3 separate regions of the Homo sapiens genome follow, and all the other regions are linked to region 3. Evidence: promoter capture Hi-C in human tissues and cell types (Jung and others, 2019). All regions are on one chromosome and are shown on one strand. The core of a region is centred on a gene start or on the middle of the fragment in contact, and the rest is flanking DNA. Distances in the headings are between cores, read along the strand shown.

The links. The method cuts DNA at HindIII sites, captures the fragments that hold promoters and counts their contacts. A contact is called where the count stands out against the background at its distance.
Region 1: a contact is called between a fragment that was not itself captured here and the fragment with the promoter of VPS35 in region 3, in 1 of the 25 tissues and cell types used here (lymphoblastoid cells).
Region 2: a contact is called between a fragment that was not itself captured here and the fragment with the promoter of VPS35 in region 3, in 1 of the 25 tissues and cell types used here (lymphoblastoid cells).

What each region holds. Positions count from the first base shown.
Region 1 is chr16:48,053,915-48,057,617 of GRCh38, reverse strand. No RefSeq gene overlaps it. Among named protein-coding and RNA genes, the nearest start is that of LINC02134, 90 kb to the right of the region's middle. The HindIII fragment of the contact is 6,796 bases long and covers 1-3,703 here.
Region 2 is chr16:48,110,931-48,114,713 of GRCh38, reverse strand. ABCC12 (ATP binding cassette subfamily C member 12) reads left to right here. Exons shown (of 31, transcript NM_001393797.1): 16 at 2,804-2,938; 17 at 3,052-3,136; 18 at 3,207-3,278. Among named protein-coding and RNA genes, the nearest start is that of ABCC12, 43 kb to the left of the region's middle. The HindIII fragment of the contact is 3,050 bases long and covers 1-2,780 here.
Region 3 is chr16:46,687,831-46,691,882 of GRCh38, reverse strand. VPS35 (VPS35 retromer complex component) reads left to right here and starts at 2,705. Exons shown (of 17, transcript NM_018206.6): 1 at 2,705-2,752. The coding sequence starts at 2,750. It overlaps ORC6 (origin recognition complex subunit 6), which reads right to left and starts at 2,224. Exons shown (of 7, transcript NM_014321.4): 1 at 2,113-2,224; 2 at 763-892. The coding sequence starts at 2,177. RefSeq lists enhancers at 1,401-1,470, 1,521-1,600, 1,838-2,536, 2,537-3,234 and silencers at 1,941-2,240, 2,561-2,800, 2,951-3,000. The HindIII fragment of the contact is 11,418 bases long and covers 1-4,052 here.

The DNA.
Region 1 (3,703 bases), core at 223-2,722, 1.4 Mb before region 3:
AAAAATACAAAAATTAGCTGGGCGTGGTGGCACACACCTGTAATCCCAGCTACTCAGGAGGCTGAGGCGGAAGAATCCCTTGAACCCGGGAGGCGGAGGCTGCAGTGAGCCAAGATCGTGCCACCGTACTGGAGTCTGGGCGACAGAGCAAGACTCAGTCTCAAAAAAAAAAAAAAAAAAAAAAAAAAAAGAAGAAGAAGAAGAAGAAAAAGAAAAATCTCAGCAGAAAGAGAACATGTCTTTCCCAGCAGGCCAAAGCCCTCCGCCTTCCTACAACTTGTTTTTTTTTTTTTTTTTTGTAAATAAAGTTTTATTGGAACACAGCCATGCCCATTTGTTTATGTTTTGTCTATGGCTGCTTTACAGCTGCAGCCACAGAGCTGTAGTTACCATGGAGACCATATGGCCTGTAAGTCCGAAATATTTACTATTTGGTCCTTCACAGAAAAGTGTTGCCAACCCTGGCACTAGACTCTAAGGCCATAAGAAAAGAGACTTTTGTCTGTTAAATTCACGGTTGTATCCCCAGTGCTGGAAGAATGCCTGGTAGATGGTAGGCTCTCAGTAGATACTCGTAGGATGAATGAAGGGGAAGTGAACACTGGTTTGGTATAAGGAGTGGTCCTAAACCAGAAAGGGCATCAACACTTTCAGGGGATTGGCTGGAAGGGCTCGAGGAAGAGCCGAGGAGGAGAGGAGACTTGAGCAGAAGCCACGTCTCAGGAGCTCAGCAAGGACCGCAGCTCAGACAGGGTCCTGACCCCACAGGACACCGGGAAAGAGGCTAGGGAATCTGGATGTGGAGAGGACTCCAGTGAGCTCCCCAAAAGCCGTTTCAGTGGACGCAGGCTGCTGAAAGGTGAGGGGGTGGAAACAGCTAACGTGTGCCTCATTTTGGGACTTGGCTGAAGAAAACATTCAGCCACCCGCATCAGATGGAAGGGGGACAGTCTTTTTTCACATTCAAGGTTTTAGAAGTAAGGGCAGGCCATGACTGGAGGAGGCTCTGCTCTTAAAATGCCTGGGTCCCTTGGGATCAGGGCTTGAGTTAACCCGTGAGTGCCTGGACTACTCCTCCTGACATCTGTCCCTCAAACAGCTGAGAGGCACACAGCACAGAGCCCAATATCACACATAAAAACACACACAATAACCAATAAATCATCTACGGTGTCTGCATTGACTAACTCACATTTCCCTTTAGGAGCCAGAGCTTTGGGCTTTTCCCAGTGGATTTAACATCTTCTGAGTCTTTGTAATAAGCCCTGGGGGAATAGCCCTGTATGCTCTATCATAATTTAAAACAGAAAGTATAAGGGCCGTATTTCCCACCCCCCTCCCTTTTTTCCTTGCACTTAACTCAAAGTCCCCTCTGCTAACTTCATCGGAGTATATTAATTGATGTCAAAATCACCCAACTCCGTTTCAGTTGTATTTGAATCCATTTAAACATTTGCAGAGTCAATTAAAGGCAGGATCAAGAGTTAAACAGTTCTATTCTTAAGAGTCAATTCCCTCCCAGAGGAATTCTTAACGTGATGTTTTTTTCTGTGTGAGTCTGAAGTGAGTTCAGGTTGGTGAAGGAAGCACCCAGCAGTCTCAGCACTCACTAGACATCTACAAATCCATTTTCCCCTCCCTTCCCAGCCCTTCCAAAATAGGCCTGGTGCTCCACTAGCCTTTGGTTCTGGGAAGTGAGATCGTGGAGGGACTAGATTCCCTGCGGGGGAAAGCAGTCCGGGCGTAAATCCATTACCTGGGCTTAGGTGTACAAGGACTCCCTCTGGATGTTGTTTCAAATAAGCTTTTTTTTTGCATTTAGGTTTTTTTGAGAAAAGTTGTTTCAGCTGACATCCAAGCGTGTCATTTGAGGTTTTGTTAAGTCATTCCCTGGAAAGAGAGGATATTTAGCTGCTTCATAAAGGGCTCTCTCTCAAGGGTGCCATTATGATTTTCTCACCTTGGCTAGTGGCAGCTGCTTCTGGGGATGTGATAGGAGCAGAGAGGTGAACCCCTGAGTGAGGCATCCCACCTCTCACTCTTTGATGGCTGATTCTTCTCGACAAAAATCGAGTCAGAGCTGGGCCCTGGTTTCACGGGCACCCTGGACCAGAGGACTTGGGGGTGTGAAGAGAGCTCCTCCAGCTCCTACCAGCCCTCCTGCATTCTCCCCACCCCAGGGGCCCGTTGACCGGCGTGTCTTGCCTCACCCCACGCAGTGTCAGTATATGCATACGCTTGTGTGCATTCGTGTGTGCTGAAAAACCAAGAGGCTAACCTCAGCCCCTAAGAAATAAAAATCAGATCCATGAAGGTGAGCGGGGAGGGCGGAGGTGGGGGATGCTTTCGGCTCCGGTGAAGGGCTGGAGACATTTTCGGAACAGTCTTGCGTGTTCCAGCTTGTTGCCACTAGGGGCTGCTGTGGTTAGGCAGGAGTACCAAGAGCAGAGCTGTTTACGAAGAGGGAAAACGGAAAGATACAAAGCAGTGATTATTTCAGTTCATGAATAATTTTGTTATTTCAGAGGATTTGGGGAGTGCGCTTGGCCACTACCCTCATTTTGCAAGTATGTGACTTCTTTCTTACACAGTGGCCCTGCCAGGATGGCTCCATCAGAAAGTCCCCTCCGTTTGATCCGTAGACCTTGCGTTGACAGGTGCAGGCTACTAGGACGGGCACAGGCTGGGCTAGGCTCCCTGCTGCATCTCCTACACAGTTCCCAGGGAGAACGAGCGCTTGTCTCTGGAGAAGGCTTCCAAGGATGGATGGGTGTTGCATTCTCAGTTCCAAGTCTCCGGTAACAAAAGTGGAAGAGAACAAACTAGATTGAGGAGGCAAGGTATGATAGCACATTTCTCAGATTCTGTAATTCTCCATGAGACTAAGACCCAGATAAAGAACTGTCAGTGCTTCAATTTAATTCCTCTCAGCACTTATTGAGCACCTACTATATGCAGGATATCTTACTCTGCTTCCACAGTACCTATATATACTCTCTTTGGAAGAGCTGGGTTAGAAATGTGGAGGGAGTAGTAGGGATAGGGCAGAGAGGCTTTTAGAATCAGGGTCCACAGGAGCTGGGAACATAAGAAAGGCCTATAAATTGCATCTACTTAATTTACCAGGAAATAGAAAATGAATGGGGGAAACAGTGAATTAAAGGGTAGGGTGCACGCTTTATTTCCTGTGGCTAAAAAAACAAGAAAACTAGAAAAATGAATCCCTGCTGAAGAGTGATTTCCTCCATCTTGCTAAAAGGTCATGGTGGCATTGTTACTCTCCTTATTATTTTTGTCGTTCTTATCTTGAACGTTTTTTGCTAGTGTGGGCAATTGACCATGAAGGCCATGCATCATTGCTTATCAGTTTAGCGCTTTTCAATCTGAAAAAAAAAAATACAAAACAAAAGCCCATTCCTCCTTGATTGGAAATAGGACTGAAATCAGCAGCATTAATAATAGGGTCTTCAAGCCACACCATTTTGGCCTGGACTCTGGCACCCATAGTTTGGCGCTTCAGGCTCCAGGAGAGGATGTGCACTTTTTGTGAGGGCAGAATCCAGGCAGGACTTCTGCATTCACTGTCTGCAGCCTTCCCCCGGGAGTAGACAACGCTGGAAGAAAAACAAACAACTTGGAACTATCACTACTAGATTCTCCTCATGTGGCCAGGCAGCCCTGATCTGGGCAAGCTTTTGTGTCT
Region 2 (3,783 bases), core at 6-2,505, 1.4 Mb before region 3:
TCCCTGCTTCCAGACCATCTCCCTCTCTCTTCTTTGTAGGGAATCCCCAGAGATGTGTGGGGGAAGGGGGGGCAGTGCATGTGTGTGCACGTGTGTGTTCATGCGTGCACGTGGGTGTCTCCTTGCCCGACGAGAGATTCCTTGGGATTGACTTATGTTGAAAGGCCTATTGGAGCAGGAGAGCAAGTGTCCCGTCTTCTTTACTCTCCTGCTACCTGCAGAGAACATGTTACATAAGGGCCTGGTCTGGGGGCAGGAAGCAGGTCTTTGCAAAGGTAAGTCAAGCTGGGGTGGAGAGGGAGGGGCAATAGCAGCAAATAAAGTTGCCATGGCTATAGGATGCTGCAGCCAGCATTTTAGGACCCTCCAGTAGTGGCCAGGAGGACCAGCCTAAAGAGGGTGTTCCTCGAAGACCCTGTAAAACCAAGCTTTCCCATTGCTGTGATGCTGCCCCTAGCCTGAGCTCACCTTTGCCCAGGGCTAGAGTTCTGGTCCCGGAATAAGCTCCAGGCATCCGAATTTTGCGCATGGGGATTGTCTGGATTTCCTCTGAGTGGGCCTGAGCACCTCCAGGAAGCATCATGCTGGGCTGGTGTGGGCAAGAGCTCCTAGTTCTTCTTCTGGCCTAGTTCTTCTTCTGAGTTAGGATGGAGGACAAGGTTGGATTTCTTCAAGACCCTCATGAGGTGACAGAATGGGCTCTGGCCCAGTCTGGATGCTAAACCTGGCAGCCCTAGCTCTGCACCTGGAATATCCCTGGAGACACCCTGCAGCAGGGAGGGCTGTCCTCCAAGGGCTCTGGGGATCTGGAGGGGGATGCCTCATCCCTGACAGATGTGGGTCATGGCTGTCCCTCCAGGAGTCCTCATGAGGGGAATCATAACCTTGGTCCTGGTTCGGTCTTTGAAACTGACTGAGCCGCAGTATGACCTCAGGCAGGAGCCATCTTCACACCAGGTCCATCTCCTTAGATTCCACCTTCCCGTGTCATTTTATCCAACTTTTTGCAAGTTGGAAGAGGCAGGTAGCCACCAGGTGGCACAAGATCTTGGTCCTGCTGTGCCTTGTCAGGGAGAATGGAACTTAGAGCCCCAGAACTGCGGCCCGGGGCTTTTCCAGAGCCTATCCCCTCTGCTCTTACTCCCAGGCCCACAGGCAAGCATCTTAGTGGTTGGGGTGGATGATCGCTCTTCTAAGGAAACCACTGAAATCCAACCCAGGTGCAGATTTGGTGACGGCTTGCAGAACAAAGCTGCTCAAATCTGCCTCATATCTCTGGAGTGAACTGGGGGCTTGCTGACCAGAGGGGGCTTCCCCGGGAGCTCCTGGAGCTGGAGCGTGTGCTGTGGCTATGGGACTGGAACAGGCTTATGGTGTCTCAGTTTCCCCATCTGAAAAATCAGCTGATAAGACAGGGAGCTGGGCAGTTAGTGGGAGGGAGGCATGAGGGCTGGAGCTGTCCAAGCTGTTAGAACTGTTATCATTCAGCCTTTGGGCACCCTCCCAACTCGCCCAATCAAGTGTACAATGACCGAACACAGCTACTTCTTTCAGGCTTGTAATCAAGAGCAGCAGAGGTTGATTTGACCTTGGATGAACCGTGCAGTATCAGGGAAGACCTCTGGCCCATACTGCAAAGGCTTCTTTCGGTCAAACCATCTTTAGTCTCAGCATCTTGCCCACCTCTAGGAGGGAGCTTCCTTGATCCTGGGGGGAGAGCTCTGTGTCTCATTCCAAAATGAAAGGAAAACCCTCTTAGCAGAACTCTTTGATCTCAGGAATGATATGGAAATGAAGGGAATTCAAATTAAAAAAAACAGAAGTGCTTTGGGCAAAATGTGGGATGCCAGCATTAAATGTAGCTGTGTTTTTATCTCATAGATAAAGCTGGCATAAATTCCTCAGGCCAGGGAATGTGGCCTCTTGCCTGGAGACCACACCGTGGTCTGCTTCTCCTGGGCTAAATGGGGATGATGAGGGAGGCTTGTAATTTTAGAACACAGGAGGACCTTCGTGAAGATCATATTTCCCCTCCCTACCAAGTCCTGGCTGCTGTGACTGTCAGTTTTATTTTCCAAATCTCCATGATCAGATTTCGATTTATTTATTTAATTTTTTTGAGACAGAGTCTTGCTCTGTCATCCAGGCTGGAGTGCAGTGGCACCTTCTTGGCTCACTGCAACCTCCACCTCCTGAGTTCAAGCGATTCTCCTGCCTCAACCTCCTGAGTAGCTGGATTATAGGTGCACGCCACCATACCCAGCTACTTTTTGTATTTTTAGTAGAGATGGGGTTTCACCATGTTGGCCAGGTGGGTCTCGAACTCCTGACCTTAGGTGATCCACCCGCTTCAGCCTCCCAAAGTGCCGGGACTACAGGTGTGAGCCACTGCGCCTGGCCATGATCAGATTTCTTAGGAAGGCAGCTCATTTAAGGAGCAGTAGCAAAGGAAGATTCAGTGTTCTTTACTGTGAGAGCCAAAGGCTGGCTTTTTTTTGGACTCATGAGACCTGTGGGTACTAGATGAATGGTTCTGTGCTGGGGGCCAATCTGCCCCCAGGAGGCACTTGGCAATGTCTGGAGACATCATTGCTTGTCACACCTCCAGGAGGGGGTGCTACCGACATCTAGTGGGGTAGAGGCCAGGGAGGGTGGTAAATATCCTACAATGCACAGGACAGCCCCCTCAAACAAAGAATGATCTGGCCCCTAAAGTCAACAGTGGTAACTAAGGTTGGAGAGGAGTTTGGCATGGGCTCTCCTTTCCAGGCAGAAGTTCATTGTCGATCACTTACTTCTGCAGTTCTTAGAGTCTTGTGATGAAGTTATTTTATTAGAAGATGGAGAGATTTGTGAAAAGGGAACCCACAAGGAGTTAATGGAGGAGAGAGGGCGCTATGCAAAACTGATTCACAACCTGCGAGGATTGCAGTTCAAGGTAACTCACACCTGGGCAGGTGTGGGAACAATTGGGGCGGAATCCCTCAGGATTTCGTGCCTGGGAGAGGTCCTGTCACTTAGCATTCAGAAGGAATTTCATTTTGTCTCCAGGATCCTGAACACCTTTACAATGCAGCAATGGTGGAAGCCTTCAAGGAGAGCCCTGCTGAGAGAGAGGAAGATGCTGGTATAATCGGTTAGAATCCCATCCCTGTTATTGTCCTTGGCTTGAATGGACACAGATCTCTCTTTATTTCTCACCCTAGTTTTGGCTCCAGGAAATGAGAAAGATGAAGGAAAAGAATCTGAAACAGGCTCAGAATTTGTAGACACAAAAGGTATTTACCACACATCCCCTCAGTCACATACACTTAAGGATGTATTGGGCATCTACCGTTTGGGATACAGACAGTGTAGACACTGTGCATGTCATTTTGGGCAGCCAGAATTGGATGGTCTAGGGTACTGTGTGCCTTGGGGTTCCACTGCCTAAGTCCAAATTTTGGCTCCACCACTTACTAGTTTTGTGACCTTGAGCAAGATACTTGGCCACTCTGAACCTTAGCCTCCTAATCTATAAAATGAGGAAGTAGTACCAACCACAATTTCTTGTAAAGATTAAATGAGAAAATGAACATAAAATGATTCGCACACTGCCTGACACACAGTGATGCTCAATAGTTATTATGAGCTGGAGAGATCAAAGTACTGCATGGGGATTCGTTAGAGGCAAAGGCAGACACGGAGCTTCCCACTCTTTATGGGGAGCATTGAGAACGGATTATGAAGCAGTGAAGGGATTGAGGTGGGATAAGGTTATTATTCTTTCAACAAATAAAGGTT
Region 3 (4,052 bases), core at 1,456-3,955:
TGTGGGAAACCAGCTCTGTCTGGGAGACTTAAGGAAAGTTTCAATGTAACAATAAGGCAAGGTCATGTAAGACAAATAGGAGTTTGCCAGAAGAGCATTGCAGGAAAAAAACAAGGTATTGCATTTTCAAAGCCACAAATCATTGACGTGCAGAGTCTGTTAAGAGAATACTGCAGCTTGAGGCCAGGATTCAAGAGAGGCTGGAGAGTTTGATGGTCATCAACAAAGCTTTGTTTTTAGTATTACCATTTAATGAGTGTATCGTTATGACACAGGTGCTGTGTTAATGGTGTTATGTACATTTAATCCTCATAATAATCCAGCGAAATTGGATATTTTATCTTCACTTTATGGATGAGGACACTGGAGGCTAACAGAGGTAGCTAGTGTGGAGATTTGATCTCAACATGAAACTCCTCCTGACTGACCCCAAAGCTTGTTCTCTCAAACACTGTGACATTGGAAGAAAAGCATAGGGGTTTGGAAATACGTGCTTTAAAAGGAGGGTAATGCTAGCAGCAATGTGGAAGATGGCCTCTAGCCGAGAAAGAGGTGGTCAGGGAAAACAGTGAAGAGTAAAGAAAACATGGCAAAAAAATATTTTCCAATGCAAAATGATTCTACAGTATTTCCAGAATAACACACAAGAATACCCAGGACAATTCTAAAACAAGAGTTTTTACTAGGGTTTAGTTCAACCAAAAGTTAAAAGAGCTTCAATGTTGCACTGGATTATTCAGACATTCGGTGGGACCTACTTACCCTGTCCAAGGGGCACTTCATCCAGGAAGCTGCAAGGTCCAGGCACATGACTGCACTGCTGGTCTCCGTGGTGCGTGCGGAGAGGCCGACACACTTCACCCGGGACAGGCGCAAGTACTCCTCTGCTTTCCTGGTTAAAAGGGCAGTGTGTTCGCTACAACTTATTCAGAAGTTTGCTCAACACGTTGGTAAACAATGAATACAGCCTGGTTAGCTTCACACTAAGCCTAACTCCTGTGGCTCGTTTATCTGGGGCTGGGAATGAAGGTCATATCCTCTGGTGAGAGGAAGACAGAACCAGCACTGACTCCAAACATCACTGTGCTCAAATGCTTTCAGGCAAAAGGAAGTTAAATTTTGACAAAAAAATTACCCTTCTTTCCTCCTTCCATTACTGGAACAAGCACGAACTATCAGAGACAGGCAGGTTAGACCAGGGTTCCTCCTTTCCTCCTATTTCCTTTAAATCAGTAGTTCTTAAACTTGATGGTAGGCGAAAATCACCTTGGGGACTTGCAAATTACTGGGTCCCAGGCCGAGTTACTGATCAGCAGGCTTGAGGTGGGACCCAAGAATTTGTATTTCTAACAAGTGACAAGATGATATGGCTGTTGCTGGTCCAGGAACCACATTTTGAGAACCACTGTTCTAAATGACTACCGAGTCCTGCAGGTTTGTCTTCAAATCTTTTAAGTGCTGTTTTCCTTGCCTTCCCTCGCCTGACTGCTCCACGTTTTAGCTACAATGGCTTTATTTCGAACCCCGGATCCCGCTTCCCATCTCAACGCTTTTACAGGAGCTGTCGCCCCTGCCTGGGCTGCTCTTGCCATATCTTTCCTCGCCTAGCATCTGCCATCAATCCGGCCTCAGCGGGAACGGCGCCTGCTTTTCCGAGTTTTGTTTGTTTCTTTGTGTTAAAGGCAGCCGCTAGGCCGCGCTCCACCCCAAGCCCAGTGGCTCAGGAGCATTGCCCGGTTAAGGTCTACACAGTCCTCGCCCTTACAGACAGCGGGGTCTGCGCCTCGTTGTCGGGTTCCCCGCTATAAACCCGACTGCAGTAGGCGTTGGCGGAATGAACGGAAAGTTCTCCCTGGCTCATTTTTCTACCCACGGACAGGGCTGGCTGTTCCCAGGGACGTGTGCCATCGCCGTTTGCTATCGCCCTTCTTGCCATCTCATTCAAGCTCACGGCCGAGAAGTTTTTCTTGAAGTAGGCCCTAAACCCCGCCCGGCCCCAGCGCTCCCCGTCACTCCCCCGCCGCCCGTCGCCTGGGAAGGGCGCGGGCCTCACCTGAGGGCCCAGGGCCGCGAGGCGGAAGCCCAGCCCTGGTCTTGCGCGGCCGAACTCACCTCAGCATGTCGGGCTCGGCGAGGCCCAGGCGCGGGGCTAGGCGCCCGATCAGCTCCGACCCCATGGCGCCGGCACTAAAGCGAACAATTCCCGTGAACGCCGCGGGTCAACGAAACCCGCGCGCAAAGGCTGCACCGGCCAGTGAGAGCCAGGCCCCACCCCCGGCGCATCTGGATTGGTTAGGACAGGACGTTGAGACCGTCCCACAAACCAATCAGGGTCTTCCTTTTGCGCATGCGCATCAATAGCGCAATCGCCAACGCAGATGCGGTGAACGTGGACTTGTCGGCTCCCCCTCCTTCCATTCCTTCTTGACAAACTCATCACACACTGCCTTTCCCTCCTGTTGTCTCCTGCCTGCCGCCGGGCGATCCCCACTGCCCTGCACTGCTCCGCCCACTCTCGCACGCTGTGGTGAGATTGGCTGGCGCTCAGGTCCGTCCATCTAGCGTTAAGTGACAGGGCCAATAAGCACGCGAGACTCGGGTTCCTAGAAGTAGGCCAATCAATGAGCCGCCTGTAGGGCCCGGGGGCGGGGCTAGAGAGGGCGGGGCTTGGAGGGGCCGCAGCGTCACATGACCGCGGGAGGCTACGCGCGGGGCGGGTGCTGCTTGCTGCAGGCTCTGGGGAGTCGCCATGGTGAGTGCTGAGGGGGCAGTGGCACCTGGGTCGACCCTCCTTGTAGCCCCTGCTCTCTCCCACCGCCCCGCACTCCAGCGAGTGGAGAAGGGGCCCCACAGACCGTTCGGGATTAAGACCAGCCCGATTTGGCCTGCGGGATAGGGGACAGCAGGAGGAAGGCCGCGGGCAGGCTGATCCGGGCCGGGGTGGGCGGCGGCTCTTGGCTGCGGCCGTTGCTGAGAGACGGGGCGGCCTCTCTGTGGGGTTGACTTGGCATGTAGGCTTTGGGGTCCATGAAGGCCTGCGGCCTCCTTTAAGTGGAATCGGTCACCTGCCTACCACGAGGGGACCGGTAGTCCTAGGTCTGAGCGTCTGGCCCCCGGGGCGCGTGGAGGCCCTGAGACTCGGAGGTGGCGCCGGGACCCGCCCAGATGTTGCGTTTCTACCTTTGTGCCTAGTTGTGCTCGGCCGTCCCCACGCCCTCCTGGAGGGGTCGCAGTGATTCCTTGGCCTTTCTTGGCCTCATACCCGCCTTCGGCTGCAGTGTTTGTCAGCGAGTTCTGGGGACCTGCTTACATGAATTTCCTGGAAGGACTCAGGCTGTCTTCTAATCCTGACGGTCGCAAAGGAGACTGATTGTTTACTTTAGCATTTGTGCATTGGGCGCACCTTGCCTCTTTTGTCTCGCCATTGATAAAATCCAAGTATTTGACTTGCTGGAAGCAGTACTTCTCCTTAGGGCCCGTCTATGACGGCAGCAAATCGTGGTGTGGCTGTTGGCCGGTAAACTTGAACTTCCTCAAAATGTGAATCTTTGTGTCTGGTTCCCACAAAGGCAAGTTGTCACTTGCATTTTATTAGCGTTTAACATAGCCTGCACTGTGTAAATAAATTTTTTGAGTATATACTGTATGTCCGCTTTAATTACCTTACTCACTCTGTGTAGATAGGCTTCTGTAAATCTGTAAGCCTGGAAACAGATTTCACTTTAAATGTCTTAATGCCAGAAAGGATTAAGTGTTTTACAAATACTATTTTCATATAACGTGTTGCCGTACAAGGTGATTTTGCCTGTTTCTCAGGATTTTTATAATTGGGAATTGATACAAGACCGGCGCAAAATTTAACTTTAGGATTTGTGTGTTTCCAGCGTTTATGGATTGACATTTATATTGTTTTGTAATGGAAAACACTTAATTGAGGATGTATTACACACTCCGATTCTTTGTTGGGTGAACCAGTTGGGAGCAATCAGCCAGACACACAGTCTTGTCCTCATGAATTTTATTGGGAAAGGAAACTTGAGTATTCGTTCTTT